Linked DNA regions of Homo sapiens: all the other regions are linked to region 3. Evidence: promoter capture Hi-C in 16 types of primary human blood cells and fetal thymus (Javierre and others, 2016). All regions are on one chromosome and are shown on one strand. The core of a region is centred on a gene start or on the middle of the fragment in contact, and the rest is flanking DNA. Distances in the headings are between cores, read along the strand shown. Region 1 overlaps DOCK9 (dedicator of cytokinesis 9). Region 2 overlaps UBAC2 (UBA domain containing 2). Region 3 holds the start of DOCK9-DT (DOCK9 divergent transcript). Region 4 overlaps DOCK9 (dedicator of cytokinesis 9). Region 5 overlaps DOCK9 (dedicator of cytokinesis 9).

The links. Contacts are between HindIII fragments. The CHiCAGO score rates a contact against its expected background, and 5 or more counts as called.
Region 1: a fragment that was not itself captured here is called in contact with the fragment with the promoter of DOCK9-DT in region 3 in 2 of 17 cell types (naive CD8 T cells and endothelial precursors); the score reaches 5.5 in naive CD8 T cells.
Region 2: a fragment that was not itself captured here is called in contact with the fragment with the promoter of DOCK9-DT in region 3 in 6 of 17 cell types (total CD8 T cells, activated CD4 T cells, total CD4 T cells and 3 more); the score reaches 8.8 in total CD8 T cells.
Region 4: a contact is called between a fragment that was not itself captured here and the fragment with the promoter of DOCK9-DT in region 3, in 1 of 17 cell types (naive CD8 T cells). The highest score is 5.2, in naive CD8 T cells.
Region 5: a contact is called between a fragment that was not itself captured here and the fragment with the promoter of DOCK9-DT in region 3, in 3 of 17 cell types (activated CD4 T cells, non-activated CD4 T cells and naive CD4 T cells). The highest score is 6.0, in activated CD4 T cells.

Annotation. Positions count from the first base shown.
Region 1 is chr13:98,944,301-98,950,149 of GRCh38, reverse strand. All of the region lies in intron 2 of DOCK9 (dedicator of cytokinesis 9), which reads left to right. It also overlaps the pseudogene RPL7L1P12. Among named protein-coding and RNA genes, the nearest start is that of DOCK9, 31 kb to the left of the region's middle. The HindIII fragment of the contact is 2,220 bases long and covers 2,774-4,993 here.
Region 2 is chr13:99,265,803-99,271,702 of GRCh38, reverse strand. The region is part of intron 4 of UBAC2 (UBA domain containing 2); the gene reads right to left. Among named protein-coding and RNA genes, the nearest start is that of GPR18, 10 kb to the right of the region's middle. The HindIII fragment of the contact is 1,363 bases long and covers 3,863-5,225 here.
Region 3 is chr13:99,085,162-99,090,831 of GRCh38, reverse strand. DOCK9-DT (DOCK9 divergent transcript) reads right to left here and starts at 4,109. Exons shown (of 1, transcript NR_047482.1): 1 at 2,207-4,109. It also overlaps a transcript of DOCK9 not described here. RefSeq lists enhancers at 2,424-2,983, 3,546-4,107 and silencers at 2,988-3,217, 3,798-3,857, 3,948-4,257, 4,298-4,777. The HindIII fragment of the contact is 5,433 bases long and covers 314-5,670 here.
Region 4 is chr13:98,865,554-98,870,851 of GRCh38, reverse strand. DOCK9 (dedicator of cytokinesis 9) reads left to right here. Exons shown (of 53, transcript NM_001366683.2): 28 at 2,475-2,621; 29 at 2,841-2,924; 30 at 3,316-3,427. Among named protein-coding and RNA genes, the nearest start is that of DOCK9-AS1, 36 kb to the right of the region's middle. The HindIII fragment of the contact is 8,290 bases long and covers 1-5,298 here.
Region 5 is chr13:98,913,122-98,918,701 of GRCh38, reverse strand. It overlaps DOCK9 (dedicator of cytokinesis 9), which reads left to right. Exons shown (of 53, transcript NM_001366683.2): 8 at 3,199-3,373; 9 at 4,307-4,374. Among named protein-coding and RNA genes, the nearest start is that of DOCK9, 62 kb to the left of the region's middle. The HindIII fragment of the contact is 591 bases long and covers 3,003-3,593 here.

The DNA.
Region 1 (5,849 bases), core at 2,634-5,133, 140 kb after region 3:
CACTGGTGCAGAGAACCATTGCAAGACTTTGCCTGAAGAAAATTTTCAGTGGTATCTTTGTAAAAGTCACCCCAAAGAGCCTAAAATGTTGCTTATAGTAGAACCTTATGTGAACTGGGGATTTCCAATCTAAAGTCTGTCCAAGAACTCATTTTGAAACATGAACAAGCCAAGGTCAAGAATGAGACCATCCCTCTGACAGACAGCACAGCAATTGAGGAGCACCTGGGGGAGTTTGGTGTCATTTGCCTGGGAGACCTCATACATGAAATTGCCTTCCCAGGGAAGTATTTCCAGGAGATCTCATGGGTCTTGCACCCTTTCCACCTCTCGGTGGCCCATCATGCTACCAAGAATAGAGTGGGCTTCCTCAAGGAGATGGCCTCACCTGGGGTGAACACATCAATCAGCTCATCCACCAGCTGAACCCAACCCAGAATATCTGAAAGCACAGTGTAGTGGAAGCGTGTGTTTTGGGTTTTTTTGGAATTATTATCAAGTATCTTCAGATAAGATTATTTCCTGCTTAATCTTCAAAAACTGGAAAGGAAGGGTCGAAGAAAAGACAGTAGGTGATGTTCATGGCAGACACCTCTCATCACAGTCATTTCCAAGGAAAAATTCCAATGTTTTCTACATTGGCTGCCCCCTCATCTGAAATCAGCATCTGCCATGGAGGAATGGAGGAGGGAGTTCTGCTTAGTTGCATCTTTTGTCTTATGGTTTATTATTGTGAATGAGTAACTCAAGCTATGTACAAGGCTCTGTAAGACTCCTGTAACAGTGGACCAAGCCCAGGGGCATAATTGAGTCTGGAGGTTCCTGGGGCCTTGTTTTGAAGACTTGAAATACACATAGGAAGAAAGGTACAAAAATAAATACTCAGTTGTCTCTGGAAAAAAAGAAAAAATTAGCCGGGCATGGTGGCGCAAACCTGTGGTCCCAGCGACTTGGGAGGCTGAGGTGGGAGGATCACTTGAGCCCAACAGGTTGAGGCTGCAGTGAGCCATGATTGTGCTGCTGCGGTCCAGCCTGGGTGACAGAGGGAAACCCTGTCTCAAAGCATGTTGTATACCACTTCTGGATATATGCCCCAAAGACTTGGAAGCAGGGACTCAAAGAGAGATTTGTTCACCCCTATTGAGATCAGCATTATTTACAGTAGCCGAAAGCGGGAAGCAACCCAAGTGTCCATCGAGGGATAAATGGAGAAAGAAAATGTGGTGTTTACAAAAAATGGAATATTATTCAGCCTGAAAAGGGAAGAAACTCCTGTCCCATGTTACAATATGGATGGACCCTGAGGAGGTTATGCTCAGTGGATAAGCCAGTGACAGAAGGACAAATACTGTTCAATTCCACCTATGTAAGGTCCCTAAAGAATCAAATTCATTAGAGGCAGAAAGTAGAATGCTGGTTACTAGGGATGGAGGTGGGGAGCAATGGGGAGTTATTGTTCAATGGGAACAGAGACGCAGTTGGAAAGATGAAAAGAGTTTTGGAGATGGATGGTGGTGATGGTTGAAAAATGAGAATGTACTTAATGCCATTGAACTGTACACTTAAAAATGGTTAAGATGGTATATTTTGTGTTTTATGTATTTAAAATAATGATTTTTAAAAAGCATAGGATTTCGTTATAGGATTTCTGTGCTATATTTATGGGTGGGAAACTGTTGTCATCCTTAGAACTGTTTGCAAAATCAGGTTGAGGAGTGAGTCCTTAGGTGCTTTTCCCACTGATATTCATGGTGTATTACCTATATAAATGTCTTAGCAAGAGAATTGAAAAGAAAGGATAGGAGTGCAGGTCAAAGATTATTCAAAATTGACAATCCTAGAAATTTTACTTTTTGGAAATGTTTGAATACAGGAGAATCCTAGAGTGTTCTCAGCATTGTACAGAAAAATGTGGTTACTCTATTTCCCTTTCAATAACATCCTGAGTTTTATTTTTCCTCTGGTTCTTTTCCTCTTCTACTTACATGAGACTGATAATGATCTACAAATCACTGACATGGAGAGGAAGCTGTGCCTGCTGCTTACAAAGGCCTGGAAGTCCCTGATCTCATTTCCCATCTGTCCTTTTGAAAAGAAAAAAACTTATTTTTCACGATGTTTTGTCCTCACTCTTTTCTTATATAGAGCCAAAAGAAAAAAACCCTCAATACTTTGTTTTTGGCTTTTTATTGAAAAGTGTTCTTTTCATAAATTCCTCAAAATTCTCATCAGTAAGAATTCAGTGGCCAACAGTGTAACTTTCTGTGAACATTGTGGTTTGTGGGATATTAGTTCATGTCTAGGCTTAGACCTAACTGAAAAATCTGGATAAATTATATTTCTGGGCCGGGTGCAGTGGCTCACGCCTGTAATCCTAGCACTTTGGGAGGCTGAGGCGGGCAGATTACCTGAGGTCAGGAGTTTGAGACCAGCCTGGCCAACATGGTGAAACCCTGTCTCTACCAAAAATACAAAAATTATCTGGGCGTAGTGGCGGGCGCCTGTAATCCCAGCTACTTGGGAGGATGAGGCAGGACACTTGAACCCGGGAGGCGGAGGTTACAGTGAGCCAAGATTGTGCCACTGCAACCCCAGCCTAAGCAATGAGAGTGAAAGTCCGTCTCAAAAAAAAAAAAAAAAAAATTCTGAATAGACACATCTAAACCTTGAGGATATGAGAATTTTAATTCTAGTTCAAGTAATGCCTTTTACAGGAAATAGTGATTGATTTTTTTTTTTAATTATCATCACATAGTCCTTAAAAAGAAAAGCTTACTTTTCAGGTAGCACTGATCAGCTGAGCTTAAGGGTATATTTATTTAACTTATGTTTATTCTTAAACGACTTGTGAAAGGACTCAGCTTTGTGAGGTGCTTGGAATCATAAAGATAAGCTAGGATCCTTGCTTTCAAAATGCTCATAACTTAGGAGAGGAGATAAAGGTATGTCTTAATAAGCAGGGGACTAGGACCAGTGTCATGACATAAATCTAGTCCCATGGGAATCTACTGTGGCAGTATTATTTGAGAGTTTAGTGGAACACTCAAGTGCTGTCAGCTCTTGAAGTGGCTGGAAACGCAGAAGTCCAGCCCTGAGAGAAGTGTTTAAAAAGGAAGATCTGGACTCATCCACAGAAAAGTGAGACAGGCATGAAAGGGGCCGAGAGCATGACGGACTGAAGCCTGGGCTAGTGCCTTCATTTAGGAAAAAGCAGGGGAAGCAGAGACAGAAGTTAGGATAAGAACCAGGAAATGGAGAAGAAGAGTTGGAAGAAGGCAGGCAGAGAGGGCAGACAGTCTCTCCATGGCTAGGGAGGTCCCAGGAAAGGGCTGTGGAGTTGGTGACCAGGAAGGGGTAAAGAAGTGAGTGGGGAGACACAGGTTAGAGTAAGCTGGAAACAGAAAGAAGAAATCAGAGTGGCTCAGAGCAGTGACAAGGTCTGCGGGAGGTTTTACCAGGATTGGGAAAGCAAGAATGAGCTGAGAAGGGTGAAACCCAGGCATGGAGAAGAGATCGAAGATATAGGATAATGTGGTCTGAGTTTTGAAGCAGGGTTCCGCATGGGGTCTCTGGGGAGGGAATTGAGGGTCTTTTAGAGGAGGAGTTGAGGAAGGAGAAATACTGCCAGCTCCAAATGGAAGGAGAGCATTGCGTATTGAGAAGTGTAGCGGCAGATTGTGCTGAGGGAGCTAATGTCAGGCTGGCCTGGGGCAGGGGGAGCTTGGGTGAGTAAGGGTTTGGAAAGCAGGCCATGGAGAGTGGCAGGGGGAGTCAAGTCTCACCAGCTTGTTCTCCCCCTGTTGGAACCATCGCCACAGCCTTTGTCTGTCCCTCTTACCTGGATTAATGCGAGAGACTCCTCTCAAGTCTTCTGGGTTCTCTCCTTGCCCTCTTCCAGTCTGTCCTAACAGTGTAGCTAGAGAGACTGTTTAAAAAGTGAGTCAGAGGATATCATTCCTGTGTTCAGAATCCCCCAGCAAAGGCCTTACAGTGGCCCAAGGGTCCCTGTGATCTTGTTTCCCATTTACTCCCAGGCCTTCTCCCAGCCCGCCTCTCTCACCATCCGCTGTCTGTCTGCAGCCACACTGGCCTCTTTGGGCTCCTGTCTCCCCCGCGAGGCTTGGGACCTATCCTGTCCCTGGAAATTCTTTACCTGGCTATCTCTTGCCCCCTGCAAACCTTTTTCCAAATCTGACCTTTGCAATGAGGCTGTTGCTGACTGCTACAGCTCCACCCCTCTTTGGCCTTGCTGGTCCTCTCTACCTTGCTCTGATTTCTTTTTTTCTCTCCCTGTCTCTTAACAGCCTCTCACACTGGTATATGTTCTTGCTTCTTATGTAAACTCCAGGAGGCAGGGATCTTAGTTTTTAAGCATGTAGAACAAGTGGTAGATATTCAATAAATATTTGTAGAATTAAACAAATGAATTATCAACCAAGAGGGGGGTCTTTCCACTTAAGATTTCAGTGAAAACAATTAGCCTTGTTGGAAATGTCAGTCACCTGGGAATAGAGAAGAGAAAGCAGAGGATGGATGGCTGTGATGGTGGCAGGATGTAGGTGAGAGTGAGTGACCCAAGGTCCTAAAATGACCTCCCAGGGAGTCAAGGCTGGAGAGTCTTTGGAGGTGGACCCTGGACTGGGAAAAGAAGACACTAGAGGGCCCAGAGGAGGAAAGAGCAAAAATACTTGGTGTGGGGTAGTTTGAGGAGTACCAGGGCACACTCAGGGAAGGGACATGTCAGTGTCTGAGAGCTCACGGGAGGAAGGTGTAGTGACAACATGGACCATGGTGGAGTGACTTTAGACGGCTCTTGGGTGAGGAGAATCAGCATGTAACAAAGCATTAAATCATTTGGAAGAAATTCAGAAAATCGTAGATGTACATTCAGCCCACTTACCAGGCCTACTAAACGTCAATCAGATATAATATCAAATTGAAATACGAAGTTAAGGGTAGAGCTCTTCAAGTGGCTATTTTGAGCATTTAAGCTTGAGCTGGATTCCCAGGTCCCTGGAAGATGTATGTTATAAGCTTTCTTATTAGAAATATTGTAGGAAAAGGAAGTGATTTACAAACATTTAGAATCATTGTTTCCTTGACTGATTCATTTGTTCTTTAATTTGTTTAAAACCATCTTGCTTAGCTCACCAAACTTCAAGAAGATCAGCATTGGACTGTGCAAATTCAGTGTTATTTTCCTAAACTGAAGGAAGTGTTAAAGATGAAAACTGCTTCTGAAAAATATCTTCTATGCCTGAGTCCAAATCAGCAACCACAGAAACATATTGGGGAAGCATAATTAACTTTGTATTTGTGCCAGCCTTTCTAAATGAAGGTGGAGGCCTGATAGGCTAGGAGGATGATCTGGTCATGACCCCGCTGTCCTTAAGTGAGGTTCAGCTGATTGGCACCTCAAAGGGTTCTCCCGCCTTCCTCGCTGTTCCCAGGGTATCCCTCTGCATCCCCATGAACTGTTACAGGCAGGGGAGGGTGTGTGGGCAGCTGTGTCCCCATGTGCCCTGGCATAGGACTGTAGGGGATGTGATTGAACATGTTATGCGGGAGCAGGACACACACATGGAACACAGTGTAATGGTGCCCTCAGGAGCCAGAGAACTCAGCGGAACCATGATGCCTCCTGCTGAAACAGTTAGGGTACAAGATCAGTGTGTTGATTTTTATGCTTACAAAGTATTTCATCATTTTCTTTATTTTTTTTTTCCTCAGCCTGCTGAGGGTAGTAGCTTTTTTTTTTTTTTTTTTTCTCATATAGTGGACACTGTGACGTGATTTTTGCTCCATATTGTGCTCAGGAAAACCTAGGATTAAGTGGGTAGTTGACATTA
Region 2 (5,900 bases), core at 3,295-5,794, 180 kb before region 3:
CCCTGAGGGAGAATTTGATAACCTGAGAAGCAGAAGTGAAAAACAATTTAAAAACTCTAAGTATGTATAAAATGATTAAGTGCTTTTTTAAAAAAGAATGGGAAACAATGAAAAGAAAGCACAGGCCAACATGACTTCATCTCCCAAAGCATCATGCAATGGCTCCCGAATGCCCTGATTAAAGGCCAAAATTAGTACAATGGCCTGACAGGACAGTGACCACTCTTACCTCCCTGGCCTCATCTCCTGCTATCTTCCCACACCCCATCCCCCCATCACTCTGCTCCAGCTGTCCACGTACGGGATGGTCCCATCTCCACCTGAGGGCCTTGGCACTGGCAGTCTCTGATATCTGGAATACTTTCCCCAATATCTCCACATAGCTCACACCTTGACCCCTTCAGGTCTTTGCTCAAATATTACCTGATTTCTGAAGCTTTTCCTTACTAGAATTATTAAAACTGCAATCCCACTCACACCCTGGCATTCCCTTCCCTAGTTTATTTAGTTTTGTACAACACAGATCATGATCTGGCATATATATATTACAAATTTTTATTTTGTTTACTGTCTTTTACCCTCAATTACAATGTACAGTCGATGAGGACAAAGATTTTGTCTGCTTTGATCAGTGCAGGATCCTCAGAGCCCAGAACAAGGCTTATCATAAAGTAGGTGCTCAACAAATAATTTAACAAGAGGAAAAGAGAATGCAAAAAGATTGGGGAAATCAGAAAAGAGCCGATTGCTCTTGTAAAATATGAGGTAGAATTCTCTCATTCATTCATGCATGCATAAATACCCAAACATTTACTAAGTGGCTACTTTATACAAGGAAGTGTCAAGCTATTCTCTTCCTCACTTTGGAAATTCTTTCTTCTCCTAAAACATGACTGAAATTGACTTCCTCCATAATTTACCATAAAAGATTAGCATATTTTCTAAGTTAATAAAAGTACGCAATGTACTGAAAATCATCTTTTACAGTTCAGCTTCCTGTTCCTTATTTTTATTCTTCTTCAGAACTCATGTGCATGTCCACACCATCAACCATCAATTTCTATCTAACTATGTTTCTAAGTACAAACTCTCGTTCCCTACTTACTTACTTTCTGGGTTTTGAAAATATTCTACTTGTTGTTGATACCACTATAATCTTGGACATTGATATAGAAATGTAAAAAGTAGTAATTAAAATCTAACACTTGATCTGTGCCCAAGAATTAGCTAAGGAGCATTATTTAGGAAGACAAAAGCTGATGACTATAAATGTGACCATAATATTCACCTCTGCTAAATTCCAATTATTTTCTTATTAACATTTACATACATGTGCATTCTAGTGAAAACAGTCTGTGGTTCATATAAGACTTCAAAGAGACACAAAATGGCAAACAATATTACCATATGCCCTTGATAAAAATATCTGCTTACAATTCTCTTTGATTAGCTCAATAATTTTCAGATAATGATTATTTTTTTCTTTAATGTTACTATTAGGGCCAAGTAGTGTGTTGCCTCACCTTACGTAGTTAAAATTTGGAACTGTGCTGAGCTGAGCCCATGAATAATCAGAACTAAAAATCATTCTTAGGTTTACATCATAGGAGTTTCACAATTGCTATACCAGTGGTGTTTAAAATACTTTATTGTGTTGTTTAGGAAAAATTAACACACATACACAATACCAGTTTTTAATTCTAACTACAGCACACGCCTTTATGAAATAGTCACAGGGTATCAAACTGTTAAAGGTGTTTGTATAAAGTATAATACCATTCTGTTATTTATTACAAAAATGTTTCACCATATGATCCCCATTTAATAACTTATTTTAGAGGAGTTAAAGCTTTTATCAAGTTCTATGTAACACTGCCATCTAGTGCAGTGTTACTGCAGGCAATGCCTACTGAACTGCTGAGCATGCTCATTTCAGAAAGGGGAAAACAGCTTTAACATGGAAGCTTACAGTCTAGATTGAAGTTCTGTAAGAATTCGTAGTAATAATATGAAAAATGTAATTTATTTTGAATATTTTATTTTATAAATGTTTCAAATATGTCACCCTACCAACTCATTATTTAGCTCTTACCTTAATGGTGTCAGGATTTTCTCATTCTATTCCTCTTTAAGTATTTATAAAGACTTTCTGGAAGTACGTACTTCAAAATTTAAAAATACCCCTTGCTTATAAGAAAGCAAAAAATCAATCACTTAGATTATATAGAAAAAATATCAAACCTCTTTGTATTACAGAATTTGAGAAATATAATAATAACTCTACATTGCAGTGAATTATGTCCTGGAACAAGTTCTGCTGTACCAGTACTAGGCTGCACAGAACATCCTGGGAAATGCGGTCCCTTGGCTGGACTCCAATTAATTTCTCTAGTTCTCTAAGCCTACTTATGAATCTCACAATAAAGAAGAGCACAGAATCAGAATATAGCTCATTTAAACCACAGAATGCTCACGGTTTAAAGGGATTTCATAGGCACTCCATTTGTGGTACCTACCAATGAGTGGACTTCCTGCAACACCCCTGCCTCGCACTCTCCCAGCCACAGCCTGAGTATCCTCAGTGTCAAATTCAGCAGCTCCCAAGGGAGATCACCTCATCTTGAGACAGTGAGTGCTGCAAAGTTACTCCTTATGCCAAGCCCAAAGCTATATCCCGTAGCATGTCCCCGTGGTCTTCATTCACCACAGGCCATTCCCCCCTTATTTAACTCCTCTTTCACTGGGCAGCCCTTTCAACAGTGGAAGACAGTTCTGCCCCAGTTTCTTCTCTCTGGGGTAAGCAATGCCTGTTCTCCACCTGTTTCTCCCATGGCCAATCTCCATCTCCACCCCATCCTGATGCCAACCTGGACCACCAGCAACATCCTTGTTTCCCTGTAATCCTACAAATGGCATCTAGGGGCATATTAGTGTCAACTGGCAGTCACTCCATGATGCCATTTCACAAGCCAAACAACTCTATCATTCAGTGCCTCTACAGCTGATTTTTAAGACTCAAGAGAAAGACCTAATGTTCTCTCTCTTACCTTCTTTACCTTTTGTGTTTCTTTTTTTTTTTTTTTTTTTTTTTGAGACAGAGTCTCACTCTGTAGCCCAGGCTGAATGGAGTGCAGTGACAGGATCATGGCTCACTGCAGCCTCGGCCCTCCAGGCTCAGGTGATCCTCCCACCTCAGCCTCCTAGGTAGCTGAGACTACAGGCACATGCCACCACGCCTGGCTAATTTTTTGTATTTTATGTAAACACAAGGTTTTGCTATGTTGCCCAGGATGGTCTCCAGGACTCAAACGATCTGCCTGCCTTGGCCTCCCAAAATGCCGAGATTACAGGTGAGAGCCACCATGCCTGGCCTCCTTCTATGTTTCATATTTTGACTATAAAGCCCAAAACTCCAGCTTGCTGAGGCAGCTAATGTGTTAGAGCTATTGTTCTTCTGAGAAGACTGCTAGCAGCTCCCCGAAAACCCACTGTTCCCTTATCTCCAGGGACACAACTGCCCAGGTAAGATTACATCTCCCAGCCTCCCTGTGATTAGGTGTGGCCACGTGACCAAGTTCTTGCCAATGGTTTGGGAGCAGGAGTGACATCTGCAACCTTGAAGGCACCTGGGGAAAGGCAATCCCTCCTCCTGCATGCCCCTTCTTTCTTCCACACCAGCTGGAAGCAGAAGCCATGGAGCCTCCTTGGAAGGCACATGTTGAGGAAAGCAGAGGTGCTCCACCAGACCAGGCCCTTGACGACTTACCGGTACAGAGCCTGCCTACCCCACAGGGTGGTTACAAAAGTGAAATGAACATCTGCGCTCTTTGAGCCACTGTGTCAGCGGTTTGTTACAGAAGCTTAGCCTCCACCATTACTGAAATATCCTCCTAGTTTTTGTAATTTGCAAATCTGATGAGCAAACACACTATATTTTGGTATTTTTTATCACTGATAAAATATTAATCAGAACAGCAGGGACCAAGAATGCTACAAAAAGATAAATGTTACTCTTTCAATTTCAAATGACTATAATAATAAAGGCAGATACCTTTCAGAGCATAAGAAAGCAGCAGTAGCAAGTGGAAGGCTCTGAAGTGAGCAGACTCTGGAACAGAGCTAGTTTCTTCCTTCCTTACTTATATCCTCCTGGACAAGGCAAAGGTGCTGAGGACTGCAGGAAAATACTGCTTCGGCTTAAGTCATGAGGAAAGGTTCCAAAAGGACTCATTGATTTTACTCAGGATAACCTCCCCTCCCTTCCCCTCACCATTTAGAAATCTAAAGCTATGAAATTCATCCTTATCATCAAAATATGATAAATGAGCAAGCCTAAAATATGCTCCAAAAATTGCATCAAAGGACACAATCAACAAAGAAAAGAGGCACCCTACGGAGTAAGAGAAAAAATATTTGCAAATCATCTGATAAGGGATTAACATCTAGATTACATAAAGAGCTCCTACAGCTCAACAACCAAGAAAGATTAACAAATGGGCAAAGAACTTGAATAGGCAATTCTCTAAAGAAGAAATATATATAAATGGCCAAGAAGCCCATGAAAAGATTCTTGAAGTCACTCATCATCGGAAATGGAAATGAAACCACAATGAGACACCACCTTATGCCCATGAGGATGGCTACTACAGGAAAGGAAGGGAGGGAGGGGAGGGAAGGGCGAGTGTGAGAGAGGTGTGCCTGCGAGCCAAGATAGGGAGAAACTGGGCATTGTGTTGCTGGTGCAGCTGCTGGGGAAAACGATACAGCCATTCCCCAACAAACTAAAACCAGAATTACCACACGATCCGGCAATTTCACTTTCAGGGATATAACCCAAAAGAACTGAAAGTAGGGACTGAAGAGATATTTGCTGTATGATGGGTACAGGCTTTCAGTCTGGGAAGATGAAAATGTCCTGGAGGTTGGCTGCACAGCAGTGTGAATGAACTTAACACTACTGAACTGCACATTTAAACATGGTTAAGACGATAAATTGTCTAATACATATATATATATATTTAACATGTCAAATTTGTTCTAAGGCCACATTTATGTTTAATATCTTAGTATAATATCAGATACAAATAAGAGTTAAAATGGAATCTTCTCAAGGCCCTAGCCCAGGAATACACATAGTCCTACAGAGAAAAACTGTTTCCTAAAAAAGAGGATGCTTCCAAAGAGGGCAGAAATGGTCTACAAGCCAAAATGTTTTAGAGTAAGCTTGTCCAACCTGCAGCCCATGGGCCACATGGGCCCAGGACAGCTTTGAATGCAGTCCAACACAAATTAGTACACTTTCTTAAAATATTATGAGTTTTTTCCATGATTTTTTTTTTGATCATCAGCTATCATTAGTGTTAGTGTATTTTATGTGTGGCCCAAGACAGTTCTCCCAATGTGGCCAAGGGAAGCCAGAAGATTGGCCACCTTGTTTTAGAGGAATACATTCATATCTATTATATAAAGCTACATATTATATAGTATTATGTAATATAATATAGAAATATTCATAAAGTAACATTAAAATATTTTATAATATTCTACCAATTAATAGCTTTTAAAAAAAATTATTTCAATTTCAAAGAGACTTTAGAAGGGGTAAAGGTGAAGAGCTCCAAGACCCACTAATCATCTGTAGGTGGCAGTAGAAGCACAGTATTTATGTCAAAGCAGCCCTGAACTATCAATCGGTATGGAAAACCGGAGACCATACATAAGAAATCTGGATCTATTTCATATTCAAATAAACTGTGTGAGTACTCCTACATTCAATAAATTGCAACTAACTTCTCTGATACGAAACCTTTTTAACTTGCCCACTTTTACCTTAAAACCTCTACACAGCCAATCCCAATCTACCTATTTCTTTTTGTCTCATTATTTTATTTGGTACGTCT
Region 3 (5,670 bases), core at 2,860-5,359:
ACTTCCCTGTGACAGTGCACAGGAGTGCCTCCTTTTTATGGGTCACTTGTTATTTTTGCTAAAAACAGATATACTCTTTCAAGATATATCCAGAAAAGATTTTAAACTAATTATATGTTATTAAGACACATACAAATCCTAAAGCAAACTTAACAAGGAAATGATGTAGTAAGAGGTTATCATTAAACATGAGTAATGCTTGAATTATAAATTTGGGTGTAGTACAGTCATTTACATGCAAATTTCAGAACTGGCTGCAATTATATTTCATCTCCACTACCTACTAGTATAATTTTCAACAGAAAGAAAAGCTTTCTTCCTATAGTTTGGAAAAACAAAGATGAGGTTACTCCATCAAGCTAATGTAGGTGGATGTATCTTCTACCGTACCTGAGACACCATCCACCCAGTCCAGCCAGAGGTCAGCCTCATCCCAGGTAGCCAGGTAGCACCCTCTTTTGGGCTGATGCTCTGCCCCTCTGTAGGTATGACTGCTCTCCAGGAAATAGTGATGCCAAAAGAATTCACACAATTCCAGGCCCACTCTGGTGGAAATTTTAAAAATAGCCTTTGGCCAGCATGTTGGTTTCCCAGGACTGCTGTAAAAGTTCCACAAACTTAAAACAACAGAATTTCTTCTGTCACTGTTCTAGAGGCTAGAATTCTGAAGTCAAGGTGTCAGCAGGCCATGCTCCCTCTGATGACTTTAGGGAAGAATCCTTCCTTGCCTCTTCCAGTTTCTGGTGGTTCCCAGTGATCCTTGCTGTTCTGTGGCTTGCAGGTGTGCAGTATTCTCCTTCCTACCTTTGTTGTCACATAGTATTTTTCCTTTGTGTATGTATTTGTGTCTCTTCTTATAAAGACACCATTCAGGCTGGGCGTGGTGGCTCACGCCTGTAATCCCAGCACCTTGGGAGGCTGAGATGGGCGGATCACCTGAGGTCAGGAGTTCGACCTGACCTCAGCCTGGCCAACATGGCAAAACCCCTTCTCTACTAAAAATACAAAAAATTAGCCAGGTGTGGTGACAGGTGCCTGTAATCCCAGCCTCCTGGGAGGCAGAGGCTGCAGTGAGCTGAGACTGCACCACAGCACTCCAGCCTGGGCAACAGAGTGAGGCTCTGTCAAAACAAACAAACAAACAAACAAACAAACAACCATTCATACTGAATTAGGGCCCACCTATTCCAGTAGGACCTCACCTTAAGTTGGTTACATGTGCAAAGACCTATTTCCAATAAGGCCACATTCACAGGTACTGGGTTTGGAACTTCAATATATCTTTTGGGGGACTACAATTCAACCCAGAACAGTAGGGACCAAGTTTCTGCTGAAACTTTAACACTAGGAATGTCCCATTTGTTATCAACAGCACTTCACCAGGAAGAAGAGGCTCCACTCTGGGTTGCTGGGTCCATCTTCCTGGGCTTAGTTCACGTTTCCATGCCGCCTTGTCTGTCAGAACCTGTGCTTGGTTAGACATTGCCAGTGACTACTGTTGGCACATTGTCTGTTGTTCTCTGCTTCCTAAATGAAAATCTGCCAATTCTAGAATATACTGAATCAGCAAGTAAGTACAGAATTTAGGAGTGGTAGAGATATGGATAAAATTGGTAGGTTTGGGGAATTCTTCACTTTCCAGATATACATATATTTAAATAAAATTTATGGTAGGTCATTGTCTTGGACTGAGCTCCTGAACTAGGCCCCAACAGACCAGACTAAAATGAAGCCACTGTGTTAGGTGCCACGTAACTAAACAGAGATTTTAAAAAACAGGAAAATCCCCAAAAGGGCCAGTTTTCCAAAAACCAGGAGATTCACAGCAACCAGTCAAACGGGGCCCAGTCAGCCTGAGCCAGCTAAGGCAGCCCCCTCTGCTTTAACCCATAAAGGAGAGTAACCTGAAGTTACCCGATGTGCTTTCGGCACTATGCTTTTCCCTTGTTCCTGCTTAAGTTACCTTAACAAAACCCAGCTGTTCTTCCATTCCCACAAGAGCTCCCGTCTATTTTGTAGTCAGAATGCTGCCTGGTTCATGCATTGCTAATAGAAGCCAATTAGATCTTTAAAACCATTTGTTGAAATTTTGTTCTTTAGACTACACACACACACACACACACACACACACACACACACTCTACTGTAATCATATAGCTCTTAAAAAAAGAAAAGAAAAAAGAATATAAAACCCTACAACCTTAGGTGCTTTTGTTGTTGTTTTTAATTTAAAAAGACAAAATTGTTCGCCTTGTATAGAAGTAGATACAGCTTAGAGAGCCAAGGTAACAAGAGGGGAAAAGTTTGTGTTGTCTGGTACTTTTGAGGGAGTCAGAAGCCTAAAGGGAGGCTCTAACTCATGATTCTCAGAAGACAACTGTTGTCAACAGTTCAAATGAGAACTGAACGGCCACACTCCTGCAGCTGAAAGGAGTCAATGCGAGCTGAGTTGCTCTCACCGAACAGAGTGCGTTCCCCGGGGAGGCAGGGAAAGGCCGGCTTGCACCTGCTCTGTCACCCAGCTCCACTCTTAGGACAGAAGAGGTCTGGAAAATGTCTGGGCCATTCCCTCATTTCACGGAGGAGGAAATGGGTTAGTGTGTAATTGTTTTTATCATCACCCTTGTTTTATCTTTCAATCTGCCAGGCTCACTCAATGCTACATCCTGCAGTCCCCACCCACTGGAGAAACAATCCGATCCTGCAAGTAATTATTGAGTGCGGACGGCATACCTCACCTCCAGACCTGCCCATTAAACCCAGAACGGAGGTGTTTTGCTCTCTGCGCTAGATCGGTATTTTCCCCTACCACTTTAAGATTACGCTTCAGGCCAGTGTTAGGCTTTCTGGTGGGGTGGGACGCAACAGGCGGCCTCCTCCACCGCAGCGATGGCGGCTATGAAACCTCTGGGTATTTGGGCGGGAGGCGCGGCAGGTATTCTCCCAAAACTGGGTTTTCAAGACCACCACTCTCTGCGGAGGCCGACCCGGCAGGTAAGGAACTGTCCATCGGAAGGCAACGGGCGTGGCGTGAGCAGCCCGACCAATCAGCAGAGCCGCCGTTCAGTCAGGCTCCCCGCCCGGGGTACCCGCCCAGTCCCCAACCACTGAGCATGCGCCGCGGGCCTGGCGCAAATCCCCGCCTGGCGCGCCCTCTCCGCGGCCCTGTGAGGGTTAGGCTGCGCCGGGCTTCCTCAGAGAGACAGAAACGGAGCCGGGGCGGGAGCGGGCCCTTAGGGACAGGAAAGCGGTTAGGGTATTGGGGGGAAAGTCCCTCACAGGGTGGCTGTCGCTAGCGGCCGCCAGCTCTGCGTCACGGTGGGCTCGCAAGCCGGCGCATCGCAGTTTCCCTGGTACCCCGCCTGGCGGTCCGGCGCGGAGGGGCGGCAGACCGGCTAAATCGGCCCCAGTGAGGGCCGCCGTGTCACCTGAGCCCCTTCCAGGCCGTTGTCCTCAGGTTACAGGCGACATAACCGAGGCTCCGAAGTATTGCCCACGTCCAAGGTGACGCAGCTGGCCGTCCCGGCGGGCCGGAGTCTGGGAGTCTCCCACGCCTGGCCCGGCCCAACCGTCATCGTCCCGCCGCGAGCTCCGTGCCTCCGGGGACTGAACGGTGGGGAGGCCGAGGCGCCACACGAGCGCGCGGCGCCCCGCGCCAGGTTCCGAGCAGGGACGCTCCGTCCAGGTCCGCCTGGCCGGCCGCGGGTTCCGATCGGTGCCACATAAATAAAGGCTACTTTCCTGAGACCTCTGTCCCCGCAGAGGCCCCGGGCGCAGAGGGGGGGCGTGGTGCACCGAGCTCCGACCCTGCCGGTGACTTCGGGGTCCCCTCGAGCGCAGCCGGGCTCCCTGGGCAGGAAACCCTGCTCCGAAACCGCGCATCGTCCAGCCTCGGCTGTGCGCCCTCTTGGTGGCGTGCGCAGTCCCCTCCTCCGGTCTTCGGACGTGCGGCCCGGGGCGGAGGCGGCCCCGACCCCCCACCTTCCCCAGTGAGGGTCCCGCGCGGCACGCCGCCCCTGCCAGTCCGGCCGCCTAGCTCCAGCGCCGGGCCGCGCCGACCTGCCTGGCCCGCCGTCCCGCCGCGGCGGCCCCTCCTCCGCCGTCCGGGCGCCCCGCCCCGCCCGCGCCGCGCCGGACACCCCGCCCCGAGGAGGCGGCCCGGCGAGTGGTCGCCGAGGGAGGCTGGTGGCATGGGGGAGCCGCCGCCGCCACACGCACGGTCGCCCGGAGCGAGCCCGGGCGCTGCTGCGATCGCGGGGGGCCGCGGACGCCGAGGGGGGCGCCTTGGGGCGTGACACGGTGCAGAGGGCGCGGCCTGGGCTGCGGCGGCCGGACTCGCGGCGAGCAGCGGGGGGAGCAGGCGGCGGCGGCGCCGGGAGCGGCGGGCGGAGCGGGCCGGGCGCCGAGGGCGCACCTGGCGGCCGCGCGGCCGGGCCGGGCCGCGGGAGCAGGCGGAGGCGGAGGCGGCGGGGGCAGGAGGATGTCGCAGCCGCCGCTGCTCCCCGCCTCGGCGGAGACTCGGAAGTTCACCCGGGCGCTGAGTAAGCCGGGCACGGCGGCCGAGCTGCGGCAGAGCGTGTCTGAGGTGGTGCGCGGCTCCGTGCTCCTGGTGAGTGCGGGACGACCGCGGGCCGGGGGAGGATGGCGGGGGCGCAGGCAGCTGCGGGCCCCGGGCCGGGCGCCTCTTAGTCGGCAGGGCTGAGGCAGAGCGGCCGACCCTGCTGGGTCCGCGGAATCAAGAGGTGGGGCCGGCGGGAGGGAGTTGGACAGGGGAGAAGAGAAGGTCCTGGAGGGGCTGCAACTCCCAGACCCCTCCCCGCCACCCAAGATCCTGTCCCCATCGCTGTCCCCTTCCTCCTGGGAAATTTCCGCAGAGTGATGTCGCCCTGTCACTCTTTTCACCCCGCTCTCTCCCAATTTACCTGCTTTCTGTCAACTGGGAAATTACACTCTCCCCCCTCCCCCGCATCCCTCCCCCGTATCCCTCCCCCGGCCTCCCTCTCCTTCCATGTTTTGGAGGGGCGCAGGGGAATTGAGGTGGGGGCTTCCTCATCCAGTCTGCGCTCAGGGTGGGAGATGCCCCTGCTAACCCTTTGAGTTGGCTGAACTCCAGGAGGGAAGGACTTCGGCATCCTCTCCTGCGCCCCCCACCTCCAAGCCGGTATCCTGAAGTTTGGCCGCCTTTTAGGAAGGCTTGGGGGGCATGATGGGAACCCTCGCTAATTTAGTATTGGTGCAAATTCCTGTGACGTTTGGGGGTTCTAAGTAAGCAAAGCCATCAGCCCAAAACGAATCTTCCCGTGGCAGAACGTCTTTAGAGAATAGGCCTCTGGGTGTGAGGAAGATGAAGTTTTCGATTAACTTTTTCACAGCCAGCGCCGGTCCTGCTGTATTTGGAAACGCACTACAACCCGATTCACCTGGATGGTGCGGGAGTGGAGCGACGTTTGAGCAGGAGCGAGCTCTGCAGGGCAGCTGGAAACTTTTAGCAGCTCCTTGCGTTGCCGCCGGCATTTGTTTTCTTGAAACGGGCTTGTTTGTGGGTGGGTGTGACTTGTGTTTGTTGGAACAGTGCAAGAAGATGGGCCTTGGAAGTGGTTGTCTGGGCCCTGTGGGGGATTGTCGGGGCAGAGTGCCGGGCCCCTTAACACAGGGGCGGATGCATCATTT
Region 4 (5,298 bases), core at 484-2,983, 220 kb after region 3:
CCCACAGTTTAGATTTGGCTGATGGTAGCCTCACCGTGTTACATACGTGGTTCTCTGCCCCGTGTTCCCTGTGAACTTGTGGTTGGATCTAGAGACTTAATTTGATTCAGGTTTGATTTTTTTTCTGGCAAGGATACCTCATAGCTGTTACTATTGCATCACATCAGGAGGCATATATACCCAGCTGTTCTACTTTTAGTTATAATAATGTTGATTAATAGGTTTACATGGTGCCCACTCAACCTGTCCATGATAGAGTTCTCCATCTACTTTTCCTGGTTTTAGCAGCCATTGACTCAGCCCCATTGTGAAGGCCACAAGCATTTCTTGGGATACCTCTTTTTCAGGAGTGGCCAGCTTGGGTAGTTAGCAGTCATGCCGGGGGTTAGAGTTGGCCTTGCCTGCGGTCTTGGAAATTGGTCATCTATTGATGCTGTCATCTCAGGATATAGAGTTATTGGTGGCACATATGCAACAAAATCCCTTTGGAATTTCACATTTTGCCATTCTGTTTTTTAAAGTTGGTGAGCTTCACATTTTTGTTACTGATCCTTTCCTCATTGGATTCTTGACTCTATGTAAGGTTATAAACATTTCCTCGTTATTGGTTTGAGAATTGAAATTGTTATAAAGCTGGTATTTCAAATATTCCTAATAGGTTCTGGCATTTAATGCATAATATAATGCCTGCTGTCATGTCAGAAATGTCTAGGTTGCAGTTCCCAGTTTTAGAAAATACTATTTGTTTGATATTGGGACATTGGTTTGGCTGCTCAAAAACAGGCCATAATAATAGTGGTTTAAATTCGACAGAAGGTTCATTTCTCTCTTGGACAATCATGAGTTGGTAGGCAGTTTGGAGAACAGGGCAGCTAGTTCCCCAAGATCATTCAGTGACTCAAGCTCCTCCAATCCAGTTATCCAGCCTGCGATGTTCACCTCATCCACGTGGCTGAGAAGCTGGCTCACTGCCACAGCACAGTCCAGGCAGTGGCACAGGAAGGAACAAGGGAGGCCAGCGGCTCCTTTTAGGAGCATGGCCTAAACAAGGCACGCATCCCTTCCATAATTTGGTCATGTGGCTCATACCTAGTGGTAAGTTAGACTGGAAAATATAGTCTGGCTGGGCAGCCATGTGTCCCTGTAAAACCATTACTCTTCAGTTACTAAAAGGAGGAAGACAAGGACAGTTTTATTAAAGGTCAGTTAGTACTTTTTAGTGAGCTCTCTAAGCCTCAGTTTTCCTGTCTGTAAAATGGGGATGAAAATACCCCCCTCTTGTGGCTGTTAGAATTAAATGCATGAATGGATCAATGTAATGGAGCATCCTTCCTACTTCAGGCTCTCAGTAAATTATTCTGTTTATAGACACAGGGGAAGTGCAGCTTCATGTAACAGAAAATGCCCAAGTTTTGGATTCTGTGGTAGACCTGGGTCTGAATCGTTGTTGTTAGTTGTGTGACTGAGGACACATGTACCTAACCTCTCTGACCCTTTAACAAATGAGGATTAAACTTATAGGGGTATTACAAGAATTGAATGAAAAAGTACATACAAATATGTAGTGCAGTGTCTGACATGTAGAAGATATACATAAGTGTTAGCTAATTGCTAAGTAATCTGAGTGTAATTTTGTAGGTTCCTGTTGGGGAAAGATTACTGTGTAAAGTTGATTGTGAGAAGACTGCTGCCAAGCAGTTTTAACTAATCATGCACGGTCATCAAAATCCGTATTTTCAGTTTGAATATTTGGAGCTTAAATGTAAGCCAGTGCTTTCTAAAGAGATCTCTGAGAGGTACAGGCATCAGAATCATCAAAGATGCTCAGTAAAAATGCAGGTTCTTGCCCCTTCTCCCTGCACCCGCTGCCAGGCTCCTGAATCAGAATCTTTGGGAATGGATGCAGAAGCTCCACCTTTTTACAAACACTTTTTAGGTGATCTTTATTACGCTGAAGTTTGAGGTTCCAGTTTTAATCCACAGCACTTATTTGAAGTATTTGAACACTTTCACAGTACTTTGAAAGAAGGAGGGTTAATTCATTTTTTCCAATTTCAGATAAACAAGACTAGGACTCTGAGGTTTTATGGGGTTTTTTGAGACTGGGCCTTGCTTTGTCACCCTGGCTGGAGTACAGTGGCTGATCTTGGCTCACTGCAGCCTCAGACTGCTGGGCTCCAGCAATCCTACCACCTCAGCCTCCTGAGTAACTGGGACTACAGGTGCATACCACCACACCCACCTAATTATTGTACAGATGGAATCTTGCTATGTTGCCTGGGCTGGTCTTAAACCCCTGGGCTCAAGTGATCCTCCCAACTTGGCTTCCCAAAGTGCTGGGGTTACAAGTGTGAGCCACAGCACCCAGCTAGAAACTCTGGGTTTTTTAAGATGGACTCAGGGATGAGATATTTTTTCCTCCCAAATGATTGCAACTTAATAAATAATAAATGTTTGCTCTGAATTCTTTTTAGTTGCTGCGAAACCAGAGATTTCCTGCATCCTATCATCATGCAGTGGAAACCGTTGTAAATATGCTGATGCCACACATCACTCAGAAGTTTCGAGATAATCCAGAGGCATCTAAGAACGCGAATCATAGCCTTGCTGTCTTCATCAAGGTGGGGACCTCCAGGGAAGAGGATATCAGTTATGGGACAAAGATGTGCTTTTTACCAGCTGTCTAGCAGGGTGACTAGAATAGAGTAGGTGCTCTGGCAATGTTGATGGCATGTTTTTTATGTCAGTGGATAAACTTATTAGCAATAAATGCTGCTTTGAATCCAAATTTCCGAAATGTTTGGACCTGAAATAACTTTTTTGCTTGTTTTCCTCCACAGAGATGTTTCACCTTCATGGACAGGGGCTTTGTCTTCAAGCAGATCAACAACTACATTAGCTGTTTTGCTCCTGGAGACCCAAAGGTAGTGCGGGGGTTGTTACTGGTAACAGAAGTCACCATGTAGCCTTTCTCTGGTAGAATTATCTTTTTCCTTTTTTTTTTTTAAAGCTCTGCCTTACTAATTTTTTTATTGTATTGAGCCTGTGTCTGTAATTATAAGCTACCTGAAGTCCTTCATTGAAGTAGGAGGAGCCCTAAAAATCAATTGAAGACATTGTTTATTGAAATGTGTCCTTAGTTTTCAAATCAATCCCTGCAGCCATCCTGAAATCTGTACAGTGCAATAGAGTGTGCAGTTCTAAGAAGGTCAAGAAGCTAATGACTATTTCTAGCATACTATTGCTAATAGGTTTTTTAGAATCCTGTATAAAATATCCAGTGAGGTATTTATGACTACACACTTCTTCCTGCAGACCCTCTTTGAATACAAGTTTGAATTTCTCCGTGTAGTGTGCAACCATGAACATTATATTCCGTTGAACTTACCAATGCCATTTGGAAAAGGCAGGATTCAAAGATACCAAGGTAATCCATCTTTATTTCTATTAACCTTTTCACAAACAGAGACATTTATTTTCAATAAGAAAAGATAATTGATTCAAACATGATATTTGAATTTTCTGATTTTTTTCATTGATGAATTAATTTTTTTCTTATGAAATTTCCATTTCAAAAAGTATTGGTAAAATATGGGAACTTACTTTTCAGCAAACTTATCAGACTACAGATCATGCCAGTATGGCTATTTCATTGAAAAATCCCTTTGCTTAAAGAAAAGGAATCTATTTCAGTTGCTATAGCTTATTTTTATTTGTTTCACTTTTCCTTTTTTCTTATGAATTAGCTTTTCTTTCACCAACTGTGGAGTCAAATGACACTCCTGTAGGTAGGTGTGGGGTATGACGCTTGCTTTCTTGCATTTTCCTCCTCTAAAAAATAAAGAATGCAAGTGATGGCTGAACTGCTTCCATATGCTGTTCTGTTAAGTATTTCCTATATAATTTGATCAATTTTTAAACTTGCCATAAATTAGTGAATTTTTTCACTGGAACTAAGACATTGCTGTAACATCCCAGGGAGGCATCCGGTTTTTTGCTCCTGAAGTCACTGGGTACTCTAGGATGTTTCTTTAAGAAGTAAAACAAACATCCCTGCTTCACCCCCAAAATTCATTATTCTACTATTTTCATAGCCCTTGTCCATAGTGGTGGCAGTAATCAAAATCACAAGCAATGTGGCTTTTTTACATGCTTTTAATGTTTGTATGTTGAGTCTTTATTAATGTCCTGTATTCTTTTTACGTTTGAAGAGAGTTGAGCTCATAGGGATGTCTTTGTCTTCACTGAGTAAATCAAATTGAACAAATTAGTCTGTCAGGTCTGTCAAGCAATAGCTCTTGAGCTTAATTCCTTGTATGTACTCAGGTATTTTGTGCTAAGGGAGAGAAAAAGTGGAAGGATGCCACCAAACTGCTAATGGCACCTGAATCAACTGCTTCTGAATTCCGAGAGAAACACACTAAGGCATTCATTCAGTCTGTTTCCCCCAAACAGACTGGTACTGCCTTTTAAGGATCAGGCAGGGGGACTGTGGCCCTGGAGTTGGCATTCATGCATTCAACAAATATTTACCCCGCACCAACTGTGTCGAGCTTCAGAATAAGTTGTGTACAACCTGGATGACAATCCCCGGCTATTCTACATACACCTGGATGACAATCCCCGGCTATTCTACATACACAAGATACATAGAATGTCAGACACTGATGCATCCTAAGGAGAACAAACAAAGCAAGGAAAGGGGATATGAAAAGGGGTGACATTTGAGACAGGGTGGCCAGATAACAGTTGGAAGAAAGTGAGGGGTGAGCCAAGCACCCGCATATCTGGGGGAGACTTTTTCTGGGCTGAGAGAACAGATAGGTATTCAGTGTCCCCTGATCTAACCCTGGCCCCCCACCTCTGTGGTCTCACACCCCCCTATTCTGCACATTCCAGGCATCCCTGCCAACTCCCAGCTCCTCAAACATATCATGCCACCCCTCCACCTCAAATAGCCCCCTCCCTGGGGAATCCTCATCTTCCTCCCCAAGCCAGCCACTCCACACCTCCTGCATGGGGCCTCCCAGGGTCTCCTCACTCTCTTCCACTTCCTCAACTGGAATTAACCACTCTTTCCTGCCCTGTGCCCCCAACCTCACCACAGCCTCCCTCAGCCCAGTCTCCTGTACCTGGGGACTCTCCTTCCTTCCACCTGGTACAGAGCCCAGGGAGCTCTTTTTGCCCAGTGGCTGTGTAGTGAATGTGTGCTGATGCCCATCTCCCCATGACCCAGCAGGGCAGCACAAGCTCTTATAGACTTCTAGGGTATTTGGTAGCAAGACGGGCTTCGCTCAG
Region 5 (5,580 bases), core at 2,049-4,548, 170 kb after region 3:
TTAATTTTTGCATTCATGCTTGACTCATAGTTTGGCTAGTTATAAAATTCAAAGTGAAATCATTTTACCTTGGAATTTCAAGGGCATCCCATTGCCATCTAGTTTCCACTGTCGTTTGGAAGGTTCTGATGTTATTCGAAATCCCTGTTCTTTGTGGTCTTCTCTTTAGTGTTCTAAAATTTTGGTTGTTGTGTCTTGATTTTTATTTTATGCTTTGGTAAGCTTTTTTGTTAAGTTATAACATATAAATAGAAAATAAGGTATAACATATAAATAGAAAATATATGCCTAATGCATGTGTGACTCGGTGGATCTTTCTGGAGCTCGGCTCTTTCTTATCTTTGTGCTGTTTTATTTCCCGTCATTCTGGAGACTCTGCCCTGCATATTCTGGCCACCTTGGTCTTCCCCAGGTCTCGTCAGTGTCTTCTACTCAGCAAGATGGCAGGGCTCTTTTTGGATTCCCCTTCCTGTGCTGCAATTCAGATACTGCCTCCAGGCAGAAAGCTGAGGCAATTTGGGGCTCACTTCAGTCTTTCCCTTCTACAGAGAAAGGGCTGCACTGCCTTTTGTCCCCTATCTGAAAACAGTTATTTCATGTATTTTGTCCACTTTTCTAGCAATGATGGTGGGAGGCTAAGTCCAGATCCTGTTTCTTCCTTATGGTCAGCAGTGGAAGGGAGGGGTCCAGAATCAGATGTCTGCAGGGACCAAGGAGGTCAATTAAGTGACAGAGAGGCCTGGTTGCAAAGCAATAGGGAATGCCGGGGTGACCTGGAGCCCAGTGCCCCATTTAAAGGGGGCATCTCCTGCCCACCTGCAGCTGGTGCCGCCAGGTGGAACCCCCGGCTCAAAGGTGCCAGATCATCTGGTTTCTCAAAAAGCAAGAAATACAGAATTTGAGTTAAACTTTGGTAACTTTAGTTATTGGTAACTAACTTTAAAAACCACTTTGAAAAATAAATAAAAAACACCAACAGGTAATTTGAGAGGATACAAAAAGCAAACAAACAAAATACCACTGTGCAGTACCCCCGCCCTGCCGAAAAAAAAAAAAAGAAAAAAAAAGGTAAAATACATGAAAGTATATTTGGGCCCACGTTCAAGACTGTAGCACCACTTAATGCTCACTGAAAATTGTTTTCAGTCAACAGCTAATGTGGATGTCTCTTAGCTGGCAATTCAGCCTTCTCTGAAGGCCACCACTATGAACAATCTAATTATATCAGAGTATGTTCATTGACAATGTCTGTGAAGTAAGGAGTGCCAGAGTGATTTATCAGTGACAGTGAATTGACTTCTTGGGTGGGATTCCCAAGTAGGAGTTTTATTTGTATTCTTTAGTCAAAAGACCTTTAAGTTACTTTTTAGCTGAATTTTCTGGCACTGACTTTAAAAAGAAGGTTAAAGCAAAACTAAATGTATTTGGCAACCTCATTTTTTAAAGTAGGAAGTAATTATTTTTGTTTTATAAGAGAGTTTTGCTGCCTGTTTCTGGCCCAGGGACAGATGTTTATAAGTACAACTGCCCTGAGCTATCAATTAGTCTCCGGGGTGCATTTCAAAATCTAAGGTTCTGACTTCAATGGAAGTCTCTTCCTTCAAATTGTCTTTGCAGATGCAGCTGATGGTGTTTTCATTTAATAAAGTGTATCCAAGGCTTCAAAAGAGTAAAATAATTTGTTTTTATCTGTGTCTGTTTGTAAACTAAGCATCAAAAGTTGTGATTTAAGTGTTTTTAAAAATTATTACTTATGGATATTATAAAAAAATTAGTTGACTGGTGCTGTGAATTAAAAAAAGTGCCTAAACTAAAAAATTTTGAAGCATTTTAGAACCCTTGAAATTTATTATACTTATTTTGCAGATGAGAAAACTGAGGCTCAGAAACAGAAATTTAGAATTGAGGCCTAATGTTTTTTTCTCCACTTTTAACTTTCTCTTTTCATGATTGTGAGTATGCAGGGAAAGGAGGAGAGAAAATTCATTTTGTTTCAAGCCTTTGACTTCTTCCCTGGTTCTTGCCTTGAAGTTTAAGTGGAATCCAAAGTGGCAATTACTGAGCCCACAGCAGACAGTCTGTGCACAAGAGTGTGTGGCTTTGCCAAGGGGAGCACTTGACTTTGCATTTCTAAGAACTGTGCTGCAGAATCACAGAGACTTTTGGGAGGGTTGCCCTGTCCCTGAGACCTCCACCAAGGAACTCTTAGAGAGAGTGTGGATAACCCAGTAGGATTTTAGTGGCTATGCGGGGGGCTGTCCTGCTGGCTCAGGTTAGTGGGAGTGTTTGATTTCATATCGCTCAGCCTGTCCTTACAGGGGATCTTGTGCCATGATCCTCAGAGCTGAACCTCTGTCTACTGCGGCCAACCTGGGGAGATTTTGCTCCCTGGAGGACATCTTGGAATGTCTGAAGACTGGCATCTATTGGCTTAAGGCCATAAATTTCGCTAAACATTGTACAATGCATGGACCAGCCACTCACAACAAAGAATTGGCTGCCCAAGTGTCAGTAGTACCGAGATTGAGAAATCCTGGCCTAGTGCATGTTCATCTTCCGTCTGTTACTGCACATGGACTACTGTTCTTGTTCTGTGAGCCAGTCACCCTCTTGCAGGCATGAAAACTGGAGGCATGAGGCAAGGCCACGGACAGGGAGTCCAAATACCTTTTGGGATTCATAAAGGATGGGAAAGTTCCAGATAAGTAAGCCAAACATAGTAATAGATAATGGTTGGCTTTTAAAAATGTAATACCATACACTACTTCATTAAAAAAATAGGAGCTGAAGAAATATGAAAATTTTACATGAAATTTCATTTATTCAACAAATATTTTTCAAATACCCACTATGTGCAAGTCACTGTAGAGTCCATAGAGACTAAGGATGTGTAGCACTGACAAAAATGGGAGCACTGAGGAGGTTTCATTCCACTGCAGGGACACACAGTGAATCAGATGAGTATGTAAAGCAGGTAATGAGTCAGAAGGAAAAATAAAGCTTGCAGAAAGTGAAGCAGGGAAGGTGGACGGTAATGGGATTTCATGGGGGGGGGCTTTCATGAGGAGGGGGCAAGCTATTTAAAATAGCTTGGTTCTAAATGCCAATGAGATATCACTCACCAACAAGAGAGAGTAATTATTTTAAAGCAGTTCTAATTCTTTTAAAGTATGTCTGTTTATCCTTTTTTCATTTCAGAACAACAAAGTCAGGCGTTTTGCTTTTGAGCTCAAGATGCAGGACAAAAGTAGTTATCTCTTGGCAGCAGACAGTGAAGTGGAAATGGAAGAATGGATCACAATTCTAAATAAGATCCTCCAGCTCAACTTTGAAGCTGCAATGCAAGAAAAGCGAAATGGCGACTCTCACGAAGGTAGATAGGCTTGGCTTCCCCCAGGCACATACACACTCTGTGGGTGTCTTTATTTTTGCCAGGTGGGTATAAGAAGGAGACCTGTGTTACACAAGTACATGAGAGGTGGGACGGATAGGAGCTCTTTACAAATATCCTGTCAGCAAAGGTTTTGTCACATTATAACTTACTTCCCTGACATTTCGTATATGGAAATCATGTAATGGGAAGAACCAAAGCTTTGGAGGCAGAAAGGGAGACCTGGGTTTGAGTGCCATAAATACTGTATTTCAGCTGTGTAGCCCTGGGTAAACAACTTATGTTTTCTGAGCCTCAGTTGACTCACCTATAAAATGGGAATAAACATGAAAATTGCTGGGAAGATGGGAAGTGTAAATAAGAAAATGAATCTCAAGTATCTGGCATAGAATTTTACTGTATTATAAAATATTAGTAATAATTAGAATGCATGGGAGCCTCAGATTAAATTGGTGAGAAAAATCTGGCTATGTTCTTGACAATTCATGTTTTACTTCAACCCTTAGGTGATTCCCAACCCTGGCTTCCCCTTAGAAGTACCTGGGAGCTTTTTAAAAATACCATTTACCTGGTCCCACAAAAGATTCTGATTTAGTTGGTCTGGGGTGGAGCCTGGGCAGGTCTGACTTTTAGGGGGTCTCATGGACGTGTCCATGTGGGCTGTTGTTCATAGCTAGTGTCAGTTCTAATTGGACGGTGTCCATGCTATACCAGCTGCTCAGTGTTTTGACTTTCATCACTGAGCCTGTGGATCAGTATTTTTTCAAAGCACCCCAAGTGTTTCCCAGGAGCATCCAGAGTGGGGAACCACTGTGTTCATTTGAAGGCACCTAAGAGAAACGGCCTTCCTCCTCCTGTTTCAAATGAAATGCTATGAATTACAAGTGATTCCGATAATCTGTTTTGCCATTTTAGATGATGAACAAAGCAAATTGGAAGGTTCTGGTTCCGGTTTAGATAGCTACCTGCCGGAACTTGCCAAGGTAACATCGTCTTATATCTTCTGCTCTTCGTTGAATGCTGTTGAAGTATGTCTCATTTCACTGGTTTGTCCAGAATGGAATCTGTTGAAATCATAAAAATTACATTGTGATTACCTCTCTCTTTTTCTGACCTGATTACGAGGTGACGTGTACTCATGCAGTATGATTTCAGGTCTGTCTTCTAAAAAGTACCCTACAAAGCATTCTCCTTTTATTATTATTTTAAGTGTTTTTTTCCCTGATAATGCTTAACACTGCATCACAGGTACTGAAGAAATAACTGAAATATGCAGGCAGATGTTCTCATAATAGCATCGTACTTTCTATGTTGATACATGTGCTCTCCCTTACTCAGGGTAATAGACACGGTTCCAAAGAGGAAGGACCTGGTAATCTTGCCACGAAACCCGGGGGTTGCCTGAGTTACAGAAATTGTTTCGGGTCACTCTTACTGGAAAAAAAATAAGCTATTCCTGTGTCTTACAATTTTGAGAAATTTAAAAGTTACTGAAAAGCACAAAGAAAAGCAAATCAACCATACTGCTACTTCCCAGATTAAATATCTATTATGATGTTGCCTTTTTAGCTTCCATATTCTTAAAAGATATAAAACATCGGTTATAGTTGAAGTTCTTTTTAAACACTGTCCTTATTCCCATTCTCTTCTTCTCCCACAACCCCAATCAGAAACAAGCACTATTAAAAGTTTTACTTTCATTTTTATATCTTTACAAATAAATCTATCATAATGATATATACAGTATGATTTAGTATGTTTAAAAATGTTTTATAAATGCTAACATACCATATGTATTCTGCACTTTAAAAAATTTTTAAATTTACCCCTTTTATTTGTACTATATAGACTTTTTATTTTAGCTGTTCTATTATTTTCATTTTTTTCTATTATAAACAAAGCTACAATGACTGTCCTTGTACTTGTGTCCTTGTGTGTATCTGAATGATTCTTTCTTAAATGAGAGAAATATCTTTGTCTTCTCTAGCCCTTTGCACTCTTACTCTGTTACTGCCCTTCTATTCTTTTTTGATACTAGAGTGAAATGGCGACCCTCCACACCCACATCTTAAACACTATAATAGAAACATGGTTTATCTATATAGGATTATAAATAGACCAGCATTCAGCATTGACCTTTATTTTAAGACAACATGGCTGTTCTCAAGTGTAAAATCTCCCTCCCTGGC